2 separate regions of the Homo sapiens genome follow, and region 2 is linked to region 1. Evidence: promoter capture Hi-C in human tissues and cell types (Jung and others, 2019). All regions are on one chromosome and are shown on one strand. The core of a region is centred on a gene start or on the middle of the fragment in contact, and the rest is flanking DNA. Distances in the headings are between cores, read along the strand shown. Region 1 holds the start of TOMM7 (translocase of outer mitochondrial membrane 7). Region 2 overlaps KLHL7 (kelch like family member 7).

What was found. Contacts are between HindIII fragments. The study calls those that stand out against the background at their distance.
Region 2: a fragment that was not itself captured here is called in contact with the fragment with the promoter of TOMM7 in region 1 in 1 of the 25 tissues and cell types used here (lymphoblastoid cells).

The regions. Positions count from the first base shown.
Region 1 is chr7:22,820,945-22,824,160 of GRCh38, reverse strand. It overlaps TOMM7 (translocase of outer mitochondrial membrane 7), which reads left to right and starts at 1,312. Exons shown (of 3, transcript NM_019059.5): 1 at 1,312-1,484. The coding sequence starts at 1,382. It overlaps LOC112267993 (a long non-coding RNA gene), which reads right to left and starts at 1,204. Exons shown (of 3, transcript XR_002956543.2): 1 at 462-1,204. RefSeq lists enhancers at 1,082-1,291, 1,322-1,401, 1,071-1,831. The HindIII fragment of the contact is 34,135 bases long and covers 1-3,216 here.
Region 2 is chr7:23,121,124-23,124,523 of GRCh38, reverse strand. KLHL7 (kelch like family member 7) reads right to left here. Exons shown (of 11, transcript NM_001031710.3): 2 at 645-747. Among named protein-coding and RNA genes, the nearest start is that of KLHL7, 17 kb to the right of the region's middle. The HindIII fragment of the contact is 3,372 bases long and covers 120-3,400 here.

The sequences.
Region 1 (3,216 bases), core at 63-2,562:
GGCTCATCTGATCTTGTGGCCCCGACCCAGGAACTGAGGCAGTACAAGACAGCTTCCACTCCCTGTGATTTCATCTCTGACCCAACCAATCAGCACTTCCGACTTACTGGCTGTCTCCCCACGCACCAAATTGTCCTTAAAAACTCTGATCCCCGAATGCTATGGGATACTGATTTGAGTAATAATAAAACTCTGGTCTCCTGCACAGCCAGCTCTGCGTGAATTACTCTTTATTGTAATTCCCCAGTGTTGATCAATCGGCTCTGTCCAGGCAGCGGGCAAAGTGAACCCTTTGGGAGCTTACAGCAAGTGACCCAATCACAGCTCACTGCAGCATCAAACTCAAGTGGTCCTCCCGCCTCAGCCTCCCAAATAGCCAGAATTACAGGCGCAAGCCACAGAGGTCAGCAAGGGGAAATTTTTAGGAGCACAGACATTGGGCACAGAAAACGACTACGTACCTTCAGAATGAGGCAGGAAAGTCTTAAAAGTCAAAGTCTTAGAAATGTCTTACAGCCTTAAAAATCAATTAAGTCTTAGACCTGGGGGGGTCAAATCTCAAATACGACAGCAGCCAGAAATTTATTACATCAGAGGTTGGGAATCACTTGGGAAACTTCAAAGGCAGATCAATGGCCAGTTCCCAGCCCCAAACTCTTTAGAATTTCTAGGAGTAGGTCTCCAGCGTGAGTATGGTTTTACCTCTCCTAAAGTGATTCTAATGTGCAGCCAGGGTTGAGAACCACTGCCATTCTAAACCAATGAGGGCAAGATGGCCAAACAGAAGTGTCATTTCCTATTTAGTCTCCTTGATTGTTGCAATGGAATTCCTCAGCTTCAAAAGTCCAGAATTTCATGTGAGATTTCCAAATTCTAAAATGTTGGCAAGTAATTAAAAGAAATTTTTTTAAAAAAGATTGGGATCAAAGAAAACATGGATTCGGGCCCTACTGAGTGTCACTTCGTAACCTTTTTGCAGTTCAACCTCAGGTTTGAACAACCTGATTCTGAGAAGTTAAATAATTTGTCCACGGTTACACAGCCAGTAGGAATAAGAGTTAGGACTAAAACCCAGTCCCTCTGAATTTAATTAATGTTCCTTCCATGAGAAGGAAGGAACACCTGAAGATGCGTTTTAAAAATGGGTAACAGAAACGCGAAGTTACCGCCAGCCATGATCGCAACCACGCATGCGCCTACTACTGCCGGCGAGGCGGAAGAGCAGGGAAGGTTAAAGGCGATGAATTACGACCTCTGCTGGCGACGCTCACGACTCCTGCCGTAAAGGCCGTGTGTGGCGCCTGCGCACCTCCTTTCCCTTTCGGATTCCCGACGCTGTGGTTGCTGTAAGGGGTCCTCCCTGCGCCACACGGCCGTCGCCATGGTGAAGCTGAGCAAAGAGGCCAAGCAGAGACTACAGCAGCTCTTCAAGGGGAGCCAGTTTGCCATTCGCTGGGGCTTTATCCCTCTTGTGATTTACCTGGGTCAGTGGGAGAAGAACCGGGAAAGTGACTGGAGGGAAGAGGGTGGCGGAGACAGCAGCCCCATTTTTGGCCGTCGGGGGAGGGAGAGAAAAATAGGGGACACTGCCGTGCACGGCCCCTGAGGCTGTCTGGTCAAGTGGGGCCGATCTAACCTGAGTTCGAGTTCCCGTTCTATCGCTTTATAGTTGCATGGTCTTTAAGCAGTCTTGCAATCCCTCCTTTTCTATTTTTGCATCCTTAAAGTGGAGGTCATATTTCTCGGGATTGTAGGGAGGGTTGGATGACCCCAGTGGATGTGAAAGTCACTAATTCACTCTCTAGCACTAGGTGGTTCTCGGGGTGTTTTTCCTCACCGCTCCATGTGGTCCTAAGTGGAAAGAGTCCTGTTCAGGGAATCGAGACACCTCGTGAAAGTACCACTGCCATGAAAGCATGATTATAATAATAGTCGTTGGATGCCTCTGCTTTCTTACCTGTACGATGAAGGGTTTGGATGATTTCTATTACTGCCCCCATTTTACAGGTGAGGAAACAGCCGTAGAGAAACTTTTTTGCCAAGGTCGCACAGCTATGCTGACTGAGGGAGTTAGGGGCTCAGGCAGTGGGGCATCAGAGCCCATAGTCTTAACCATTATAGCGCACTTAAAGGATTTGGGGTTTTTTTGGTTTTTGTTTTTAAGACAGAGTCTCGCTCTGTCACCCAGACTGGAGTGCAGTGGCGCTATCCCGGCTCATTGCAACCTTCCCCTCCTGTGCTCTAGCGATCCTTCCACCTCAGTCTCCCAAGTAGCTGGGACTACAGGCTGGTGCCAACAGGCTCGGTCACTTACTGCAAGGATTTGTTAATATTTTTCAGTTAGGGTTGCAGACTGGGACCTATTCTGTAGTTTTTTCTTTTCTTTTCTGTCTTTTTTTTTCCTTTTTTCCTTTTTGAGACAGTCGCTGTGTGCCCAGGCTGGAGTGTAGTGGCGCGATCTCTGCCCACCGCAATCTCTGCCTCTCGGGATCAAGCGATCCTTCCCCCTTAGCCTCCCGAGTAGCTGTGATTACAGACTTGCAGCCACCGCTCGCGGCTAATGTTTATATTTTTAGTAGAGACGGGGTTTTGCTTATGTGGGCCAGGCTGGCCTCAAACTCCTGGCCTCAAGTTAGCTACCTCCCCTCCAGCCGGCCTCCGCCCCGCGCGCGGCCTCCCAAAGTGCTGGGATTACAAGTGTGAATCACCGCGGCCAGGCTGTAGTTTTTTCTTTTTCTTTTTTTTTTTTTTTTTTGAGACGGGGTCTGCCTCGCCCAGGCTGGAGTGCAGTGGCGCGATCTCAGCTCACTGCAAGCTCCGCCTCCCGGGTTCTCGCCATTCTCCTGCCTCAGCCTCCCGCACAGCTGGGACTACAGCGCCCGCCACCATGCCGGGCTAATATTTTGTATTTTTACTAGAAACGGGGTTTCACCGTGTTAGCCAGGATGGTCTCGATCTCCTGACCTCGTGATCCGCCCGCCTCGGCCTCCCAAAGTGCTGGGATTACAGGCGTGAGCCACCGTGCCTGGCCAAGTTTTTTCTTTTTAATTTTACTGCCCCACTCAGGCAGTTCGGTGAAAGGGAAAGAGCAGGTTTTTCATCCCAGCTGTGTCAGTTTGAGCATATAGTTTGACAATTGTAAAACTCAGTTTCACATTTTAAAATGCTATGGTTTTAACAAGGTGCTGCTTCCTATTTAATTTAGGTGTCATGCAT
Region 2 (3,400 bases), core at 556-3,055, 300 kb before region 1:
AATTCTCCACCCAAGATGTGCCTTAAATTAAGCTAAGAAAAGAGTGAATTAGTGTACTTCTTTTTAAGACCATATTAACAGAAACATAAAACTAGATTTTGTTTTTTTCCCAAGCTCATAAAATAGTACTAAGTAGAGGAAGTAGGACTTGGACCCAGTTCTGAACACCAAATCCAGGGTTCTTTCTGGCACAATATGCTACAGCTATTTTTTTTTTAAAGTTTAACTTGCCGGCTAAAATATTATGAAATTTATCTGCTTCTTTGTCTTTCCACCTAAGGTTAAAAAGAAAACCCTGGGCTTTTTTTTTTTTTTTTTTTTTTTTTTTTTTTTGAGACAGAGTCTCGCTCTGACGCCCAGGATGGAGTGCAGTGGTGCAATCTCGGCTCACTGCAACCTCCACCTCAACCCTGGGCTTTTAAGTAGAAGCTGTACCTCCATCAATAAAGGCATCAGGCCTTTAGGTCTAATGAAAGGACATTTTTTCCTTTGGTTATCAGCTGACTACTTTTTCAATCTCTTCACTGTTCTGTGGCCTTAAGTTCTTAACTGCTTTAAAAATTAGAAAAATGACATATTCTCTTTTAGATTTTACTTCATTCTCATAGAAGAAATAATGGCATGTTTTACCTTAAGATACTTACTTGTGAACATTAAGTTAAAAAAATGACTGGCTGCAGCAAGAACAACACGATGAGCAGGTATCTTTCTTTCCTGGACCATGAGGATCACGTCACACAACGTTTTCTAATCAAAGGAAAAATACATAAAATAAAAAGAGGCTCACTAGCCTAGCTTGGCAATACATGTTAAAAAGGTGCTTGCCAAATGCTTTATCTCTATTTTCTATTTAAAGCCAATCTTTTTCCAGCGCAGAATTTCTTTTGAAGACATATTTAGAAAGGACTTACAGAGTCGCTGCCATGTAGTATAAAAATTTTGCACTGAGTTTTCCAACAGTCAAGAGGAAAGAAAAAGTTCCTCATAATCAGAAACAAGTCTACTAACCCTTCAGAGAAGTCTTTTTTTTTTTTTTTTTCTGACACAGATTCTAGGACATTTCTCATGGTAAGCTTTTCTGGGGGAAATTCAATGACATCATGGCAGTGCCCCTGACACCCTGACAGTTTTTCAAACACAGCAATTAGTTTTTATATGATTTATTTTCCATTATTTATCCTTGATGAAATTGAGAACATACACTGCATTTCCTAAGAAAGTAGCATTCACAGATCTAACTTGAAACAGAAACAGCTCAGAATACAGAGAGGAGATGAACTAAATGTCCTTTCAGCAATCTTTTATTAAATAACACTTCTCTCAAATGCACTTCTGATAGAAGCTGGATAGCAGCCAGTTTTAAATTCTGATTTCTGACCAACGTCAAAATAGTATCACCATAAGCTGCTTAAAGAAGGCAGCTCTGAGTAATACTTAATTAAAATGTGGGGAAAACGGAATAATAAAGAAAAAATTTAAGGCTTACTAGAACACTTATAAATGAATATCAAGAAAAATAAATGTCCTTTTTGCCAAATAAAATCTTAATTTCTTAACGAAGTTAAAGACAAAATATAGAGATTAGGCTTACAGAAAACTTGGTGTATACAATGTATTAAAGACTGTCCTAGGCACTGGGAATATGAGGCAAATAATATATTCAGAGTAAAAAAAATATCGCTTACAAATCTAAGATTGGCTTCATGGCTCAGAGGATTTGCATTTTGCAAATTTTAAGTATTTTACTAAAACTGTTAATATAGTTTCTGATAGATAAATCTGTTATTGTATTATTTTGTGAAGATAAAATAAAATAATAATGTTTAGAATGAGAGAGAAAATAAGCCTCAAATAGCAGGCTAGGAAATGAACAAAATTTCACTTTTACAGCTTATTTGAAGATTTTCAAATAAGGCCTAGTATTGACTATTGCTTAAAACTTATATGCAGGTTTATAACTAAAGCTATTTTTATTCTCATAGTGTCTTGAATTTTTAAATTTTATTTCATTTGGGGAGGGGGTACAGAGGCAGATCTCTCAGGTGTTTTTGCTACATACTATACCAAAAAATACCAAGTAGCATAACCAAGTTAACTATTTGGTTACCACCAAAAAACAAGTGATCAAGTTGCCTTGGAGGTCAAAGGAGGGAGAGAAGGAGAGGGAGAAAGGGGTGGGGAGTGAAGAATAAAGATGATAAAGCATCAAGCAAATCAGATTATATCAGATCATGGGGAGAAATCTATGGCCAGTGATGGAACTTCTATGAAACATAGGGTTAAACCAAAATACAGCAAAAACATCTCCAAGGCATACTCAACAACAGAGTTTATAAGTAGAATGACTTTATAGGCACTGAAGGAGGTTGAAGAAATGTAGATCTTTGTACAGCAACTGAGTTTTAGTCTAAGATTAATGTCCAGCTGGATATTAATGGTTGGAGGGGTGGGGAAAATAAGTAGGAAGAGTCTTTTGTATCCAAATGGTACATTTATTTGCCTATACTACAATAGACTGATAATTTCCAATAAGAGATGGGACTGCCGGGTGCAGCGACTCATGCCTGTAATCCCAGCACCTTGGGAGGCTGAGGCGGGCGGATCACAAGGTCAGCAGATTGAGACCATCCTGGCTAACACAGTGAAATCCCGCCTCTACTAAAAATACAAAAAATTAGCCAGGTGTGGTGGTGGGCACCTGTAGTCCCAGCTACTTGGGAGACTGAGGCAGGAGAACGGCATGAACCCAGGAGGCGGAGCTTGCAGTGAGCTGAGATCGAGCCACTGCACTCCAGCCTGGGCAACAGAGCGAGACTCTATCTCAACTAAAAAAAAAAAAAAAAGGATGGGACTGACCTATAGTGAAAGGCCCCTCCTGTTATTAATAAGCTAAAGAAAGGTATATCCACAGACAAGAAATGGGGGCTCGGTGTGGTCGCTCACACCTCCAATCCTAGCATTTTTGGGAGGCCAAGGCAGGTGGATTGCTTGAGCCTAGGAATTCGAGACCAGCCGGGGCAACATGATGAAACTCTGTCTCTACAAAAAAAAAATACAAAAATTAGCCAGGCGTGGTGGTGTGTGTCTGTAGTCCCAGTGACTGGAGGTGGGGGTGGTGCTGAGGTAAGAGGATCACTTGAGCCCCAGAGGTGGAGGTTGCAGTGAGTTGTGATTGCATCACTGTACTCCAGTGATATCATTATAACAAAGAGACATCTGCACCCCCATGTTTACTGCAGCACTATGCACAACAGCCAAGATATAGAGTCAACCTAGGTGTCCAGTGATAGACGAATTGATAAAGAAAATATGGTATATATACACCATGGAATAATATTCAGCCATAGCAAAGAATGAAATCTTGTCTTTCACGGCAATGTGGATGGAACTGGAAGACATT